Linked DNA regions of Homo sapiens: region 1 is linked to region 2. The links are contacts of gene promoters, found by promoter capture Hi-C in blood cells and fetal thymus (Javierre and others, 2016). All regions are on one chromosome and are shown on one strand. Each heading gives the region's core, a stretch centred on a gene start or on the middle of the fragment in contact. The rest is flanking DNA. Distances are from core to core; before and after follow the strand shown. Region 1 holds the start of HS6ST1 (heparan sulfate 6-O-sulfotransferase 1). Region 2 holds the start of CLASP1-AS1 (CLASP1 antisense RNA 1).

What was found. Contacts are between HindIII fragments. The CHiCAGO score rates a contact against its expected background, and 5 or more counts as called.
Region 1: the fragment with the promoter of HS6ST1 here is called in contact with the fragment with the promoter of CLASP1-AS1 in region 2 in 1 of 17 cell types (naive CD8 T cells); the score reaches 5.5 in naive CD8 T cells.

The regions. Positions count from the first base shown.
Region 1 is chr2:128,315,946-128,320,620 of GRCh38, reverse strand. It overlaps HS6ST1 (heparan sulfate 6-O-sulfotransferase 1), which reads left to right and starts at 1,753. Exons shown (of 2, transcript NM_004807.3): 1 at 1,753-2,584. The coding sequence starts at 2,058. RefSeq lists silencers at 1,411-1,820, 2,515-2,744 and an enhancer at 3,746-3,895. The HindIII fragment of the contact is 4,073 bases long and covers 235-4,307 here.
Region 2 is chr2:121,528,466-121,533,519 of GRCh38, reverse strand. It overlaps CLASP1-AS1 (CLASP1 antisense RNA 1), which reads right to left and starts at 3,352. Exons shown (of 2, transcript XR_001739683.2): 1 at 2,745-3,352; 2 at 1-1,142. It overlaps CLASP1 (cytoplasmic linker associated protein 1), which reads left to right. Exons shown (of 41, transcript NM_001395891.1): 3 at 3,195-3,273; 4 at 4,740-4,843. RNU4ATAC (RNA, U4atac small nuclear) reads right to left here and starts at 2,640; the gene lies at 2,511-2,640. RefSeq lists an enhancer at 2,963-3,092 and a silencer at 3,283-3,482. The HindIII fragment of the contact is 3,511 bases long and covers 576-4,086 here.

The DNA of each region.
Region 1 (4,675 bases), core at 504-3,003, 6.8 Mb before region 2:
AGCAGCCTTAATTATGATGTAGCACGAGGATCCTTATCTGGGTAAGGACATCTGGGGGGTGGACCCGGGGCAGCTGTGCTCCCCTAGGCCACACAGGAAGGCTCCCCAGGGCTCAGGCACAGACTGCGTCAAGGGGCTGCAGGCAGGTCCAAGCACACTGCAGGGCGGCCCCACCTGTGTCCCATGGGGACTGCACCCCCACTCCTATAGGAATGAGTCACTTCTGGAGAAGCTTGTCCAAGCTGCCCCCAGGACCCTCGGGCCAGGGACAGTTTTAAAGCAGCCTACAAGATGAGCAGGGGCTTTGGGGCCCTAGGTCCCACTGAGGACCCCACACCATGGACTCCAGGGTGCGCTGGGCTGTGTTGAGGGTTCTGCACCCGCCTGTCCACAGCGGATATTCTTGCGGTCCCTTTGGAAAATGCATGCCGCCCGCTCAGCTGGGTTTGGGGTGTTGGTTTTTCCAGCTCTCTGGGTTTGCTTCCAGGAGGGCTTTCTGGTGTGATGTTGTCTACGTTTAACAGCTTTACTGAGGCATAATTGACACCCCATGATCGCTTCCGGTCCCTAACAGAACGGAAGGCAGGGCACCACCCCGCCTCCCCCCCCACCCCGTCCCCGGCAGGGCTTGACGTGGACACTGGGAGCCCACGCCTGGCAGCCAGACTCGCTCCCAGAGCCCTCGCTGGCCTGAACCAACACACTAGGGCCCACCGCGGCCGGCCCTGCAGCTGTGAGATCCTGGCAGGTCCCAGCCCCACTCCTGCGCTTCCGACGGGCTGCAGCCTCCGAGTACTGCCAGAGCCCAAGCAGTGTGAGTGGGCACCTGGCGGGACCCCCCGCCCCACGAATGCCGCGCGTGCTTGCCAGGCTGGGCGGCGGCGAGTGAGGAGCCCGCACCACCCGGCCCACACACGAGCCAACGTGGAGCGAGCCCTCCGCAGCCAGGTTGGGCCCGGGCCGCTGGACTCTCCAACCAACCCACGAAAGACAGAATATTTGGTGGGCACTCACGATTCTTAAGAATTGGCTCAATGTTTTATAACTCTTTCATTGGAGTATAATAAACATGGATGGGGGAAAATGCACCTCGTCTGATATTCTTTTCAAACAAGGAGGAAGCCATAAAGCCGCTCCGCAGGCCTCTGCAGACAGCCCAACATCTCTTCAATGCGGGGCTGCGGGGCACTGTCCCAAAGCCAGCCGCAGGGGTGAGGGGGTCGAGCAGGAAAGGAAAGCCTCGCTTTCCCTCTCGGTCCTGGTGGTGGGCGGCCCCCGCCGCCCTGGTCCCTGGAAGTGCAGCCCAGTAGGCTAGCGTCTAACTTCAGCGCCCCAGCGTGCAAGGTCAAGGCCTTTCCTCCCGCGCGGGCTGCGGGGACGTGGGCGGCTGGGACTTGGGGAGGAGGGGGTACGGACCCAGGCTCCAGAAGCGCCAGCCGCCGCGCCCCCTCACCGCGGCCCCCGCCAGGAGAGCCTCCCACGCCTCGGCTCCGCACTGCCGGTTGGTCCCCCACTCCCCTGAGGGCGGAATCACTTCCCAGTCGCTGGCTGCCCGCCTGCTAGCGGCCTCGCCACCGCAGCAGACCCAGGTCCCGCGCCCAGCACCCGCGGCGAACCCCGGCACTCCGGAGGCGGGGCCGAGGATCGGCGCGGGCGGCGACGGCAAGAGACGCCACGGGGGCGGGCCAGGGGCGGACCGGGGCGGGGCGGCGGCGGCGGACTGCGGAGACGCGGCGGCGCGCGGGGCGGCGCAGAGCGTTCTCGGCGCGGAGTGGAGCGGAGCGGGCTGGTGCTGGGGGCGCGGAGAGCGCTGTGCTGGCCGGGGCCGGGAGCGGGGCCGAGCGGGAGCGGAGTCGGGCGTCGGGCCCGGGGAGCCGGGGCCGGGCGGGGAGCAGCCATGGCACCGCGGAGGGTCGGGGCCCGCGCCGCTGCGGGCGGCCTGGGCGCCGAGTAGCCGGGCCGGGCCGGAGCGCGGGCGGCGGCGGAGGCAGCTGCGCCCGCGCCTCCTGCCCTCCCAGGCCCCGCGCCCCGCGCCCGGGCCCCGGCGATGGTGACACATGCGGCGGCGGCGCGCCGGCGGCAGGACCATGGTTGAGCGCGCCAGCAAGTTCGTGCTGGTGGTGGCGGGCTCGGTGTGCTTCATGCTCATCTTGTACCAGTACGCGGGCCCAGGACTGAGCCTGGGCGCGCCCGGCGGCCGCGCGCCGCCCGACGACCTGGACCTGTTCCCCACACCCGACCCCCACTACGAGAAGAAGTACTACTTCCCGGTCCGCGAGCTGGAGCGCTCGCTGCGCTTCGACATGAAGGGCGACGACGTGATCGTCTTCCTGCACATCCAGAAGACGGGCGGCACCACCTTCGGCCGCCACCTCGTGCAGAACGTACGCCTCGAGGTGCCGTGCGACTGCCGGCCCGGCCAGAAGAAGTGCACCTGCTACCGGCCCAACCGCCGCGAGACTTGGCTCTTCTCCCGCTTCTCCACCGGCTGGAGCTGCGGGCTGCACGCCGACTGGACCGAGCTCACCAACTGCGTGCCCGGCGTGCTGGACCGCCGCGACTCCGCCGCGCTGCGCACGCCCAGGTGAGCGCCCGGGCGGCGGGATCCTCGCGCAGCTGCGCCCCCGAGGCCGGGCCGTATGCCCGCCGTGCTGTACTGGGTCGGCCCTGCCTTCCCTACCCCCTTCTGCCCTCTTGGGGGCCCCCACTCGCCGGCACCCCTCCCGACCTGCCGAGCGCCCGAGGCTCCCAGCTCCTCTGGGTGAGCCGGCTGTCACCGCGCTTTCTGACCTCGCTCTCACTCTCTTCCTTGCCTTGTGCTGCCCTACTGCCGGCTTGACTGCGCAGCGCCCGGGTTTTCTCCAGGGTCCCCGCCCGCTGCCCTCGGGCCACCTTACCTGCTGTGCGCCGTGAGGTCTGGCCCGCCGGACTTGGGGACGCGGGCTTCTGGGTGTGTGCGTGGCCTACCTGGAGTGTTGGCTTCCCCGTGCCGCTTCGGTGCTGTGGTCCCAAAAGTGGAAGTGAGAGTAGTGAGGTGCCGCCCCTGTGCCTGGAGTGCCTGCCTTCAGAGGGTGGGGGAGCTGCCAGGGAAGGGGGCTGGCTCTGCCCGCCTGCCTGCCGGTGTGTGCAGGTAGAACAAAGGCCCTGTTGACCTGGGGCTGGGGGCGGGGAGGAGGCAGTACCGCCTGTCCTCCCAGTGGGGCCTGCCAGCCGAATTCTTCCAGGCACAGGCTTGCCTGGAGAGAGGAACAAAAGCCACCCGATGGGGGACCACCTTCCCCAGGAAGCTACCAGCCAGGTTGGGGGTAGTTGAGCTGGTCCAGGGAACCTGTGCTGCCACACCCCTTCTCTGGGGTCCCCCAGCCCCATGTCAGAGCTGAGCTGCGTGAGGACACAGAGCATGGGAGGGGTGCCGGGGCAGCTCTTCTGGGAAGCCGTTTGTAGGGGAACCTGGGGTGCTGCTGGGTTTCCAGCAGTTAAAGTTGGGGTTATTTTCCTCCTGTTCCTGTTGGTGCCCATTCGTCCTGCAGGGATGCCCTGCGGGGCCTTTCTCCCCAAAGTCTGGGCTGGGAAGGGCCAGGAGCAGGGCTTCTTGTCTGCCTTTTGTTTCTCTTCCAAATTTGCCTTAGGACTGAATTTGCAGACAGGCTGGTGGTAGGAGGCTGGGCGGTTGTAGGCGTGTTGGCTGGCACTCTTGGGTCCAGAGGCTGTAGGCTCTCAGGTGTGCCTGGGGAGCCTGGAAGGTCCAGCCAGCCTGGAGCTGAGCAGAGTCCGAGACACTGCTCCCCTGCACAGACCTCAATCCTTGCTCTGTGGTCTTTCTCAGGCTGTCAGGAAATTGGGGTCCTAGAGTTGGAGGGGCATCTTCCCACTTTTCTTTCTCCCCCCTCCCCCAACTGTACACACACACACCCACACACACACACACACTGCAGCTCCCAGCCTGGGAGGTGATGTTCTGAGCCTCTTACAGCCACATTCTACACTTGGCGGTCACAGAGCTGCCTGTCTAGGGCCCCTGAAGGATTGCTTCCGGCCCAGCACTTAGTCTGCTCTGCACAGATGCACGTTCCTGCTGCAGGGCCCCCCTAACCCTGGTCCAGCTTCTCTGTGCTAGGCTCAGCTGTGCCTGGGACCACAGCCATGCCCCCACCCACCCTTCCACCAGTCAGAGCAGTAGGCTCCCAGAGTTGGTCACTGACCAATACCAACAGACGCCTCCCTACCTGTGGGGGGTGCAAGGATGGGGGTCACCCCCTTTGCCAGAGGGACTTAGCTCGGCAGCCTAAGAGGATTGCGTGGAAGCTTCGGGCCGCCAAGAAGCCGGAGCTTTTGAAACAAGCCTGCTCAGCAGAGGCCACCTCAGCCCTAGATTGCAACCAGGATGCTCTTCCTGCAGCCCCGCACGCCTGTGGGTCCCCAGGGTGAAGAGCCTTGGCCTCCTTTCTCTGGAGTTTGTCCATGAGAGTGGGAGGACCAGGTGGGGCCGATGGGGCCCCAGGTGCTACACCAGGAAGGCCCGGCTCCCCCTGCCCAGGGAGCATGTGTGGAGCAAGAATGGAAAACGCAGATGCCTCTGGCGGAGGTGGGCTGCCAGCCTGGAAATTGCTAGCTCAGCAGCATGCGCCAGGGTTGGGAGGGGCTTCCAGGGCCGTCAGGAGGCCCCCTCTGCCAC
Region 2 (5,054 bases), core at 2,103-4,602:
AAAAAAGTACCCTTACCACGTGCCAGGCACAGTTTACATACACACTTTATTTAACCCTCACAACAACCCACGAGGCAGCTGTTATTATTGTCCATGTTTTACAGATGAGGAGGTTAGGCACAAAGAGGTTTTTATAGTTAATTATCAGAGTGGTCTTCTGGGCAAGGACTTTTTCATGTATCCCTTTCTTCAGTAGGGAAATGGAAACCCAGGAGAAGGGCCTGAGCTGTGAAAGTGCCTGGAACTGCCTTCTGTCCTCCTGGCTGACACCCTGGACCTCTCCTGTCCTATTTCTCTGGGGCTCAGGTGCATCTACCCACTCAGTCTTCTTCGGGAGTTTCCAGGCTCCCCAGTTCCTCTAGGCAACGCATTGAAACTTGACTGTCCGGGGCTTAGCGAGGCCTTCTCTGCTCAGACCTACCAAGTAAACTGCCATCCTGGAAAAGCTGACGTCAGCTTTCCCCCAAATAAACAATAGTCCTCTTTACCTTAGCCTTGAACGATGTATGAAGGGATGTTTCTGTCATGAATAACACCCCTACCTGCAACCAGTAATGCAACTGTGCAGATAAGCTTAAGATTTCACCAGACAAAAGCTAAATAACTCACTTAAGTGATGGGCTGTTCTTTTTAAAAAATAAACTTTTTTACAGAAAAATTACAAATATCTCATTATTATATCTAACATTAATGTGGTTTATTACAATTAATGAGCCAGTATTGATGTATTATTATTAACTAGAGTTCATGCTTTATTCATATTTCCTTAGTTTCTACCTAAGGAAAAATGTCATCTTTCTGTTGCACACTCTTTTCCAGGATACCTCATTACCTTTAGTTGTTATGTTTCCCTTGGCTCCTGTTGCTGTGACAGTTTCTCAGAGTTCTTGTTTTTGATGACCTGGACAGTTTTGAGGGGTACTGGTCAGGTGTTTTGTAGGATGCCCCTCTATTGGAATTTCTCTGATGTTTTCCTCATGTTTAGACTGAGCTTAAGGGTCTTGGGAAGGACTGTCACAGGCAAAATGCCGTTTTCATGACATCATATGACGTGTACTTGATGTTGACCTCCACCATCTGGCTGAGGTTGCGTCTGTCAGTTTTCTCCGCAGGATAGTTACTCCTCCACTTCATACTGTACTCTGGAAGGAAGTCATAGTGTGAAACCTAATCCCTTTTAGCTGGAAAGTAGAGTCATTATTTTAAAGTGTTTATACCATTATTATATTATTTAAAAAATCTGTTTACAAATTGTTCTCTTTATAAAAGTTTTAAAAATTATTTTCTTCAATATTGTCAAGTAGCCAGTTTCTTGCAAGAACATTTTATGTATTGTGGGGATTATTGGGCCAATTTAGATTCCTTCAGTTTTGAAGCAGTAGATTTCAAAGCTGAATAGAAAAGTCTGCAGTTTTTGCTTTTATCAGCCGCCAGAGGCAGGCAGGCACAGGCTGTATACAAGAAATCCTAACTGTTGCCCCGTCCTGTTTGGTTGTTGTGTGAACATTGGGCAGTGCCCGGCTTTGTGTTGGAAGCATGTTTAATGAAGTCTCACAGTGCAAAACTGCTTCATACGGAGGAAGGGTTTAATCTGACTATTGGACCATTCCACAAAAAGCTCACTATTTCACATTTCTTTTTCTTTTTTTTTTTGAGACCGAGTCTTGCTCTGTCGCCAGGCTGGAGTGCAGTGGCCCGATGTTGGCTCATTGCAACCTCCGCCTCCCAGGTTCAAGCGATTCTCCTGCCTCAGCCTCCCAAGTAGCTGGGACTACAGGCATGCGCCGCCACGCCCAGCTAATTTTTGTATTTTTAGTAGAGACGGGGTTTCACCATGTTGGCCAGGATGGTCTCTATCTCCTGAGCTCCTGATCCGCCCGCCTCGGCCTCCCCAAGTGCTGGGATTACTATTTTTTTTTTTTTTTTGAGATGGAGTCTCGCTGTCGCCCAGGCTGGAGTGCAGTGGCGCGATCTCTGCTCACTGCAGGCTCCACCCCCCCGGATTCACGCCATTCTCCTGCCTCAGCCTCCCGAGCAGCTGGGACTACAGGCGCCGGCCACCTCGCCCGGCTAATTTTTTGTATTTTTAGGAGAGACGGAGTTTCACTGTGTTAGCCAGGATGGTCTCGATCTCCTGACCTCGTGATCCGCCCCCCTCGGCCTCCCAAAGTGCTGGGATTGCAGGCGTGAGCCACCGCGCCCGACCTGGATTACATTTTATGTGAGGTGCAAAGACCTACTGAAACTTCGTCTCCTATTGAAACTTGACCTAGACTACTGGGCTGACTCAGCATAAGGAAGTTACAGAACAGTTGATGATCGGCGTAAAGTTAAAGGGGTGAAGTTCTGTTGAAATCCTTCCCGTTTAATCACCGCAAAAACTGAAAGAACTTTACTTGCGACACTAAAACCACGCGTCTTGTGCACCCTCTACTGGTTTAACCACAAAGTACTAGTTTATTTACGAATTACTGCTGTTTGAACTGATAAGTCTATGAAAACAGGTTTTCATTTTTCCAAAAATTGCACCAAAATAAAGCAAAAGCTCTAGTTGATGCGGGTGTGTTGTTCAGGCGTTAGCAGTACTGCCCTCACTATGCGCTCATTGGACAGTAGCGCAACCCCAAGAAAAGGATGGTTATAATAGAAAGTCCCTGGGCTGCAAGCAGGAAGCGCCAATACCTGGTAGGGTTGTGGTAATTAATTCGTGAGCCTCGCCCTAGTCGGTCTGGTAGCTAGCTTACCTCCAGCCTCCACAGCTTTCGACGACACCCCAATTCTTTGTTTTCTGAGGCTCCCGAAGGGTCGCAAAAGCGGCGGCTCGGTTTTACCCAGAAGACCGCGCGTCGGCCGCTCGAAAATTTGCATACGCTTTTCTCGCCGGGGCGGGGCTGGCGGGGGCGGGACCGCGGCGCGCTCTTGAACTCCACCCGCAGCTAACCCGGGTTTGGCTACGCTGTATTGCCTTTTATTTCGTTTCTCCTCACCGAGTATTTTCCATTATAGCTGTACATAGCTCTTTTTGTGGAAGATCATCCTTCTTCGTGCTAATCTCTTTGGTCCTCCAGTCGGCATGCGTCTGGACTCTCGGACTGCGTCTGGGCCGGAAATGTCTAGGCCTCCCCGGAGCGGGTGGGCGGGAGCGCTGCCCCGCAGGCCGGCTGCTAACAGGCTCCCGGTGTTTCCCGCTGCAGGTGGTTCTGCTGGGCATGGACATCCTGTCCGCCCTGGTGACCCGGCTGCAGGATCGGTTCAAGGCGCAGATCGGCACAGGTGAGCTGCGGCACTTGTGGAGCGGACCCGGCCCCTTCAGACCCCCAGCCTTCCCTCGGCCTCCCCGGCTCCCAAACCCTCCCGGCAGCCACCCTGCCTCCCCTCCAGCCCCCTCTCCCTCCCTTCCGCTCCTCCCAAACAGCCAGTCCCCGCCCTCCCCCGCAGCCCCCCTAAGCACTCGCAGCCTGGGTCGGCCGCCCCGCTGCCTTCCCTTCCAGCTGGACTCCCCTGGCCTCTGGGCCTGCGGGCGCCCTTACCCTCCCCCATACCTTTGTACTGGCTTCACTGTGTTCTCACACGGAACTTAGTAATACGTGTTCTAATATGAAATATTAGTGCCATTTTTATTTCTTATGCTAAATTAGCTGTCACTCTTTAGTGCCAACCAAGTCATATTTTACCCTGACCCCGGTCCCCTTTAATGAGAGGCAGTTTTCCTTGAGAAATCCTATAAAACCAAGCCAGTTGTATTTTTCTCCAGATGATTATGGTTGGCATGACTATTTTCACCTTGATTGTAAATGTCATTACAAATGTATAGTAAATGTTCACTCTTATTTTGAAGGGAAAACAGTATGTCAGCAAAATGAAACAAAACCCACAGATTTCATAGATTTAAATACCTCTAAATTCCTGACCTCCGGTGTTTCATGGGGGTAGTATAAACACTAAGCATCTCTATGCAACCATTTCCTTATGGAATTTCTCTGTTTTACGTTGGTACACATGTATTCTTTACTGTTAACTTTCCGACCAATATGCTCCTTCTGAAAAGGTCATGAGCACCGACTGTTTACAAATTTAAAAAAAGCTTTTACTTTTAGACATTTGATATTTTAATAGTGTTCCATTTTCCTCCTAAATTAGCTGAATTATTCAGGGATATCTCATGTAATAGAGGTTTACAAACTCTTAAAATAAGCTGATCTCTGGTCTACAGGTGCACTTGGACCACTGGTGGGAGGGTCCACCCTGGGTATGTCGGGGAAGATGGAGAGCTGGGCTCTGTCTCATGTGTGTATGGGCGTGATGTAAAACTAAAAATACACAATAGTGATGAAACTTAAGATTTATTCATAAGTGCCCACTCCTTCCACCCCCAAACACATATACTGGAGCCCCTCTCCTTGTGTTTTACCTAAATTTTCCTTTCTGTTGACTCTTCCTCTCAAGGTCTTCCATTTTTATCAGCTTACAAATACGTTGGGAACTGGCTGGAGGAACGTGGGGTAAGGAGGAAGACAAATAGTGTATCTGTCCATGCAAAGGATTTTGCAGACTCTTTTGGTGACTTTCATGGACTTCAGCAAGGAGAGTAGAGCTGTGAGCAAAGATGAGTGGTTTTAGAATGAGATACATCATTTAGGTCAGGGGTTTGTCTTCCCACATAATTGAGATAGGAATACTTGGTGACCACAGACCCCCAAATAGGGTTTCATTTGATCAGTTTCCATTTTGATTTTCAGTGCTGCCAAGTCTAATAGACAGACTAGGAGATGCTAAAGACTCTGTGAGGGAGCAGGACCAAACTCTGCTGCTAAAGATCATGGATCAAGCTGCTAATCCCCAGGTAGGGGCAAGAGATGTGTTTTGAGGTCAGCTGGCCAGTGCGCGTGCATGCACGTGCGAGGGTGTGTGTGTGTACTTGCACAAATGGTGTGACTCCATAGACTTAAGCTGATGTATTACAGATAAAAATTTTCACAGCATTCAATCTGTTTCCCCATGCAAGATATTTAAATAAGTCACAAAACTATGAGATGAGTAAATTAGTGGATTTA